Regions from separate parts of the Homo sapiens genome. Here all the other regions are linked to region 2. Evidence: promoter capture Hi-C in human tissues and cell types (Jung and others, 2019). All regions are on one chromosome and are shown on one strand. The core of a region is centred on a gene start or on the middle of the fragment in contact, and the rest is flanking DNA. Distances in the headings are between cores, read along the strand shown. Region 1 overlaps STK24 (serine/threonine kinase 24). Region 2 holds the start of GPR18 (G protein-coupled receptor 18). Region 3 overlaps STK24 (serine/threonine kinase 24).

Region 1 (2,700 bases), core at 91-2,590, 800 kb before region 2:
TCTGCAAACAGAGGAGAAATAATTGTAGATAAACACTGAGAGAAAGGCCTCTTCGGGATGTCTTTCATCTTGGGGGAGAGGGAAAAAAAGGTCATCAGAAACAGTTGACGTTCACATTGGCAATAATTTAATAAACCTCCCACCTGGACTATGGAAGCGCAGGAGTTGCCTCTACACTTCACGCTGAGGAAACACCCTCTGCGCACCATAACATCTGAAGGAGACTATCGGCTGCCTCTCACTAGACTTCAAAGTTTCATCTGCAGTGACATGCAAAACCCACGCACCGGGGAAACCAGCATCTGGGTTCCATGTGGAAGGGGACTCTGTGTGGGCACAGGCGGTGAACTGCCTCGTCTTGCTATCTACGCAGAAGTGCTTTACTGGTTGGGCGTGGTGGCTCATGCCTGTCATTCCAACACTTTGGGAAGCCGAAGCAGGAGGATCACTTGAGCCCAAGAGTTCGAGACCAGCTTGGGCAACATAGTGAGACCATGTTTCTATTAAAAAAAAAAAAAGTTTTAAATAAACTGGGCGTGATGTCACATGCCTGCAATCCCAGTTACTCAGGAGGCTGAGGTGGGAGGATCACTTGAGCCCAGGAGTTTGAGGCTACAGTGAGCTCTGATGGCACCACTGCACTCCAGCCTGGGCAACAGAGACCCCGTCTCAAAAAAAAAAAAGAGAGAGAGAGAGAGAGAGAGAAAAGTACTTTACTAATGAAACCCTGGAAATAGAAATCAGGTCAAGATTGGCCATTCCAATGGCTGTCTAGGACAGAGACCGAGTTTCTACTTTTGCAACCTCTATTTGGACATTTAACACCTGTTCACTTATCAAAGCGGGACTTGTAGGATCAACAGGGGACAGCCACTGGCCCACCCTGCCTGAAAGAAACTACACCACTATGCTTTACAAGACCCTAAATATATGGCCTTTCATAAATTTAACAGGCATAAAACCAATTAATCAAAATTGTTTTACATAAATATCAAAAGCAATGCATTTACTTATAAGGTCCTTAAAACTCAGTCACAAAATTATGATATGTATGTAAGTAACCGCAACATGCACAACAGTCCCTCAGAGCTATGAAGTCATTTCACGGGTCACCCCCAAACCCCATGACATTGCCACATCGGGACATCCTAACTCAACAGCAGGGCTGCAGAGAGCAGAATAGAGTGGCACAAAACAGACCAGAGGCCAGACTCCCTGGTGTGAACACCTGGATCATCAGACAGAACTAAAGCTCTTCATCTGCCCATCCCCTAGCAACAAAATTCCAGGACAGCTGCCACAAAGGACCCCAGCCGCACCCACAGCAAGCTTCACACACAAGTGCCTCCAAAACACTGCAGACTGAGGTCAGCGTGGCCATTCTGGAGTGAGCAGACGTACCTTATTTCTGTCCAAGTCCGATGGCTGAAGAGCTCCATTCTCGAGATTCTTGGGATCTTTTTCTCGGATTGTGAAGATCCAGTCCCCAGAATCACTGCCCCCCGAGGCTTGGCCATCTGTTTCCCTTAACACAGAAATGCAGGAAATCCCATCAGTGCTCGCACACCTGCTCTGGGGGCGCTGGGACGTTCAGGGGGAGGCCGCCTGGGGACCTCTAAACCCACACCCACCAGCCCCAAGTCCCCACCCATCACACCCTTGTCCAGTCCCTCTGGGATTTCCCAAAGACCCCCCCGCCTCCTCCCTCACAGAGAAGAGACCATCGGGAGGTGGTTCCACAACTCCCTGGCGTGCCAGTGTGTGCATGCCCACCCTCCTCCTCCTCCCGGAGAACACCTCCCCCACCTCCCTGGGAGCCCATCTCTGGGACATCAGCTTCTCTCTGCTGGGCTCCTCCTCTCACCAGGGAAGCAGATGTCCCTGTGTTGGGTGTGGTGGCTCATGCCTGTCATTCCAACACTTTGGCCTCACCTTGGCCATCTCTCAGCCCTGGTTCTGGGATTCACACTCACTGCCTCTATTTGGTACCCTCCACTCGCTCCAAAGCCCACCCGTGTCCCTCCGAGCGCTCCCTCCCCCATCATGAGATGATGGTGTGCTGATCACTCCCTGTCCTGTATGGGCCTCAGAGGCAATGAGCCCCAGGCCCTGCTGATCATCCCCTGATGCCTGTGGCCCCATTAAGCCTGCACCTCCTCCCGCCCCTCGGCCATACCTCTCCCCTCTCACTCACAGGCGGAGCCTCACCCTCACACCTAGGGGCCAGCCTCACTCCCCCACATGCCCCAACTGACACCCTTTTTTCTCTCGGCTCAAGTGACCTCCACAGAGCAGTGGCCCCTAAGCCCGCTTCACCTGCCCAGCTTTCTCACCTGAACTCCACACCTCGGTGCCACTTCACACTGGACGTCTCTCCTGGACAACTCAGACTCACACACGGTTCACCCCACACTCGGCTTCCCGCACCACACATCACAACACCTGGTGCCACGCTGCCCCAGCCTGGAACATTGGCTTCCCTCCTTCACCCAAATCCACCGCCGCGTCCTGGCTCTCCAAACCTCTCTCCAGTCTCTTTCTCTTGTCATCCCTGTTGCTACCCCAGCAATCTCCCAATGGCAGTACCTCAAGAACTTCCGGGGGCAGTGGTCTCAACCTTGGCTTTAAACTGGAATCACCTAGAGACCCTGAAAAACCACTTAGGGTCTCATCCCCGGAAATCCTCATTCAACTGGCCTG
Region 2 (2,704 bases), core at 5-2,504:
TCTTTCCTTCTCAAATATTTAGGTTAAATATGATTTAGGAGCATAATTCTATATATTTAAAAACATATTAAATTTTCCAAATATTGGTGTGACTAGAATATTAATTTCTATCAAATGAGGAAAGTGCTACAGAGAAAAATTATATCTCTAGTGTCATTCAAAGGAGAGTAATCTTGGAGGCTTAAATCTTATTTTTAACTGGAATGCATTCTTATTAAATAGTAGCAATTATAATATAAATGAAATTTTGTATTTGTTTTTCTTTTTTTAGTATTGCATCAGGACTCCCTTCACCTATCCTCATCCTTCAATTTTGTGACATAAGTCCTGTACTTACAAACCATCTTGAGTCTTTTTTCCCACGTTATGCTCAAGCTGTTTTTATGTAGCTTGTCACCAATACTTATATTCATTTGCTGACGTTTGAAAAAAAATGAGTGATGCATGTGTTTTAAAGGCATTATAGTATTGATTGTGCTCTGCAAACACAGAAATTTTTGGATAAATATTGAAAAGTGATTGACTTTAAAGTCAGCTTTTTAAAAGCTATAGATACCATGATTATCTGTAGCTTTTCTTTTCTTAAAAACCATTAAGTTATTTCATGAAACAATGTAATTGAAAACATGTGATGAACATTCCTAAATATACATATGATTTACCATAAACATTTTCTTTCCTTAAGTTGAAAAAAATTACATTTAGTATTAATGTAAAGCAATATTGAAAATAAATGTAAAATCATATTAATGTGGAAAGATGATTATATAGCCTATTTCAAGGTCTTTCACCAACATAGTTTGTTATGTTTATTTTTTTAATTAAATATATTTTTTTAATAGAGACGGGGTCTCACTATGGTGCTCCTGGGCACAACTGATCCTCCTGCCTTGGCCTCCCAAAGTGTTGGAGTTACAGGCGTGGGCCATTGCGCCCAGCCTGTATTATTAAAATGAAATGATTTTTGAAATGCAGTACATAAAGCATTACTTTTGACAATAATCATGAAGTTAATTAAATGCTGCTTACCTCCTGTCCATCAAAAGTCTGTGTGAGAGATGAGCATTTTTCAGCACTTCCACTTCTGTCGAAGGGATATCTTTGAGTTGCTTCTGTTAAAATAGCTCTTTCTGGAAACAGTGTATTTAAGAAATGTTGTATTTTGTTTTAGACTCTTTTGTTGCTTTAAAAAGTAGTTTCCAGTGTAACGCTTGGCGTCGGAGTTGGTGCTGGGCTGACTTTAATTGCTGCTTTGTCTCTTTCAGGAAGTGCTCTCTGAAATAGGCTTTTTCACCTTATGACTTTACCCTGGATGTGGTTTTTCTCTTTCACAAATGATTTGTTTATGAAGTCACACTTAGCATAAGCTCCCCTTGAAATGATGGCATATATTTAAGATAATTATATACAAAGGATAAAGTTTCTTCAGTTTGTGTACTTTGATGCTTGAAGTCTGCATCATCTATGGAAAGAGAAGATTTGATATTGAGTAAAAGGGGGTTTAAAGTCTAGCTTCTTTGCTTTATAAGCTATGTGACTTTGTCTAGTTACCTACCCACTCTGACTAACCCTTTGTTCCTACTTCATTTCTGTACAGTTGAAATAGAGATAATACTATATCCAGTAGGATTGTAGGGGCCCTAAACCAGAAAGATCCCAAGTGCTTAATAGTACCTGGCACTTAGTAGGTACTCCTAAATGGAGTCTCACTTTTTACTACCAAGTTATTAAAAATCATAGAATATCCACATTTCCACTTTTTACTATTTAAACATTTCTAAATGCTTAAAAGTAGGATCCTTGATTAATTGCTTCTGCTTTGCCACATACATTTATCCACTTTAGTTTGCTGTATTTTGTAAGTCTGCTTTTCTAGTGCGTGGAAGTCTAGAAATAATTTCTTTTGCATAAAAATTTCTGCAAATCTTAGCAGAAAGGACTCTGAAGTCTTTAGTGGACTGATTTACATATTAAGAGTGTTTTCACCTAAGAAGGGAAATGAAACCAGCAGAAAGGGAAGTGAGCAACGAATCGCTGCCTGCCTTGTTAGGTTAATTTTGTTTTACTTTCTCATTTCTTAAAAAAAATTATCTCTCATTTGCTTATCCTAAAATTTTAATTATCTTTATGTTTGGTTATGCATGGTTTGTCAACTTTTTAAAGGGTTCATGAACTTAAATGTATTTGTTTTTTTGAATTTTAGACAGTTTGGGGTCCATCCTTTTTTTTTTTTTTCTCAGACAAAACCATAGTAAATCTGTGGCTTAGAAAAGTTACTTAAATCCTTGCCTTTGGTGATAAAATACTTTTGATTGTTACAACCTGCCAGAATGATGGGTTTTAGAAGTGTTGGAGACAACCATAGCAACTATTTCTTGTGTGGATGAAGAAATTGAAGGCCAGTTACTTGCTTAAGAACTCAAGGTAAAGCCAGGTCCAGTTTCTCCCGCTGTAATAACTTCTTATGAGGTAATTATATTGATCTGTCCACTAGATAGGACTTCTTATGGCTGAATCACATTCATCAGTTTTTTATATGTGATGTTATATTTCATTCATCACACAGGAGTTTGATGTTTCAGCTGGACAGAAATCTGCCTGCATGCAGACCTAATCTGTCCTTTGCCTTATTCACATAGCTTAGGACTTTTCTAAAATTAAGTATTGATTAGCTTCCCCATTGCTGCTAAAATCAACAGATACA
Region 3 (2,700 bases), core at 140-2,639, 770 kb before region 2:
AGGAGACATCAGGCAAGTCATTTAAACCCTCTAAATTCTTCATCCACAACAAGATGGGAATCAGATCGGTGCTTCCAACCTCACAGTTCCAAGTGACAATTAAATGAGATCATGAGTGGGAAAGCACTTGGCAAAATTCATGGTGCTCAACAGATGCAAAGTGCTATCAGCTTTATCAACATCATCACCCAGAAATGCCTCTGAATAACCTGGTAAAACCAAAAGGGCCCAATTAACAATTCTAAGTAGTTTCTAAGCAAAATGAAGCCTGGTACAATGATTCACGTATTCTGCACCAGAGGCCTCATGGCAGGAGCGTCTGAGTGGCAGCCTGTTCTCCGGGAAGGACCCAGCTCTGTCCTGCAGATGTGGAACCACTGTCCTCATAAAACCTTCCAAACCATGACTTCTGAGGCACTCATTCCCCAAGAAAAATAAACCAGCAGGCTTCTCAACACAATGATGACTTTAATCGAAATAATTTCATGTTTTTTCAACAACCTCAAATAACCTAAGTTATGAATGACCTCGTGATACAATTTTCTCATCAGGGAAATAAAAGTATTCATTTAATTAATAAATTCTGGAGTGAAAATTTAAAAGGTGCCAAAGTATATACAGTGAGAAGTCTCCCTCCCACCCTGGGCCCCCATTACCCAGCAAACCAACCGTCCCTGCCCCAGCAAGTCATCACGACATCTAATGTAACCTCAGAGAAAAATAGTTATGCACATACGAGCAAATACCTACAAAACTTTACCCCCCTTTTACCCAAACGGTGGCATTCTACACACACTGTTGTTTACCTTGCTTTTTACCTAAAGTTTCTTAAAGAGCAGTCCATATGTAAAGGACTTCCTCATTTTTTTAACCATAATTAGCCCATGCCTTATTGAGCTCACATTGTTTCCATTTTTCGCTCTGACGGCCCAGGTGTCAAGGAAGAGCTGTACATTTGTCAGTTTTGCTGGGTCCTGGAAGCAGACCTGCTGGGTGAAGGGACTCCATCTGAATTTTTAACAGATACTGACAAGTGACCCTCCAAAGAGGCTGTCCCATATATGGCCTCAGCAGTGTCTGAGGGTGCTAATTTCCCCCTTTCCCATGCCACAGTGTCATCAAGTTTTATTTTATTATTATTTTTTGGTCATTTTTATGGACTGAATTGTGCTTCCCTCTCCCACACACCCACGATTCACATGTTGGAGTCCCAATTCCCAACACTGCAGAATGTGACTCTTTAAAGAGGTGACTGAGTTGCAATGAGCTCATTAGGGTGGGCCCTGATCCAATACGGCTGGTGTCATAAAAAGAGATGAAGACACACACACACACACACACACACACACACACACACACACACACACGGGAAGACCACATGAGCACACAGGGAGAAGACGGTCATCCACAAGCCAAGGGGAGAGGCCTCCCAAGAAACCACCCTACCAACATCTTTCCAGGTTTATTAGCAAACGAATTCCTGCTGAAGGCTCCCAGTCTGCGCTACTTCGTTCTGGCAGCCCCAGCAAATTAAGCCAGTTATTCATTCATACACAAAGGATGCTTCAGGGGAGTTTTATTTATCTTTCTCCTATTGTAAGGCTGAACATCTTTATATATTGAAGAGTCATGCATATTTTCTTTCCTGTGAGCTGTGTATATCCTTTGTCCATTTTTCTATTGGGTTACTGACCTTTTTTTTAAAGTAGGAGTTTTTAACATATTGGGAAAGTTCGCCTTCTGTAATAGGAGCTGCAAACACTAGCTTTTGCTTCTGGTAATTTTTGCTTACAGAAATTAATTTAATATAGACATACTATCAATAACCATAGCACTTCCAGGCAAACTTGCCCCAAAGTATTTGGAAGTGCCTCCTAAGAACCCGGAATCATTGACCGGAACCAGGGCCCCCACATTAACAACTCTCACAGGAGCTTGGCAGAGGTCACACGAACCCACCAAGGTTAAAAAAAAAGACAAACGAGAAAGGGCAGATGCTACACAGCTAACAGTGAAGATTTTAAAACAGGAATTCGAAACTGCAACTCTGCTCTGCACCTGAAATGCCCTTGGCAGCCTCCACATTTCACCAGCTGTAACCAAAGGCCAAGACCAAGAGGTATAAACAATGCAGCGGGCTTTATTAAAATCACACGGGGTCACAGACTTCCTTAAGAGCGTGAGTTTTTGTAAAAGGTACCTTTCCGCGCAGATGACGCATGTGGCCTCAAAGCCTTAAGGCCTGGTTTGCATCCAGGCTCAGGCCAGCTCTGATGGCAACTACAACAAGGCCTCGCCTATGAGCCTCCACTTCCCATTGCCCCCGGGACTAATGTGCATGCTCCTCAGAGGGGCTTCGATGATGATGAAGTGAGGCCGTGTACACAGCAAGACTCATCAACTTGAACCACTATTACTGTGTTAACTCCACAGTGTCCTCTGTCTGAACTGCAGGCTTGCGAACCCGGAAGAAATCCAAGCCTGTTGCCTATTTTACCTTCAGAGCAGCCCCTGACCATCTTCAAAGTGCAGGAACCATTCCTGAGCTGGAAAAGCTTATGTGGTTGTTCCTCAGGCTCACAGACGCTAGGATTTCTTAACTGATTCATCTAACACATAACATACCTACTAGGTACCCAGGGTGGCTGAGGGGGAACGCAGAGTGAGTAACACCCTGGCTCTGGCTTTCAGGAACTTCTA

Evidence for each region. Contacts are between HindIII fragments. The study calls those that stand out against the background at their distance.
Region 1: a contact is called between a fragment that was not itself captured here and the fragment with the promoter of GPR18 in region 2, in 1 of the 25 tissues and cell types used here (dorsolateral prefrontal cortex).
Region 3: a contact is called between a fragment that was not itself captured here and the fragment with the promoter of GPR18 in region 2, in 1 of the 25 tissues and cell types used here (spleen).

The regions. Positions count from the first base shown.
Region 1 is chr13:98,460,373-98,463,072 of GRCh38, forward strand. It overlaps STK24 (serine/threonine kinase 24), which reads right to left. Exons shown (of 11, transcript NM_001032296.4): 8 at 1,402-1,525; 9 at 1-68. Among named protein-coding and RNA genes, the nearest start is that of FARP1-AS1, 26 kb to the left of the region's middle. The HindIII fragment of the contact is 4,293 bases long and covers 1-2,700 here.
Region 2 is chr13:99,257,125-99,259,828 of GRCh38, forward strand. GPR18 (G protein-coupled receptor 18) reads right to left here and starts at 1,255. Exons shown (of 2, transcript NM_001098200.2): 1 at 1,030-1,255. All of the region lies in intron 4 of UBAC2 (UBA domain containing 2), which reads left to right. LOC124903198 (a long non-coding RNA gene) reads right to left here. Exons shown (of 3, transcript XR_007063846.1): 3 at 1,315-1,462. The HindIII fragment of the contact is 6,968 bases long and covers 1,242-2,704 here.
Region 3 is chr13:98,486,840-98,489,539 of GRCh38, forward strand. All of the region lies in intron 2 of STK24 (serine/threonine kinase 24), which reads right to left. Among named protein-coding and RNA genes, the nearest start is that of FARP1-AS1, 52 kb to the left of the region's middle. The HindIII fragment of the contact is 3,535 bases long and covers 1-2,700 here.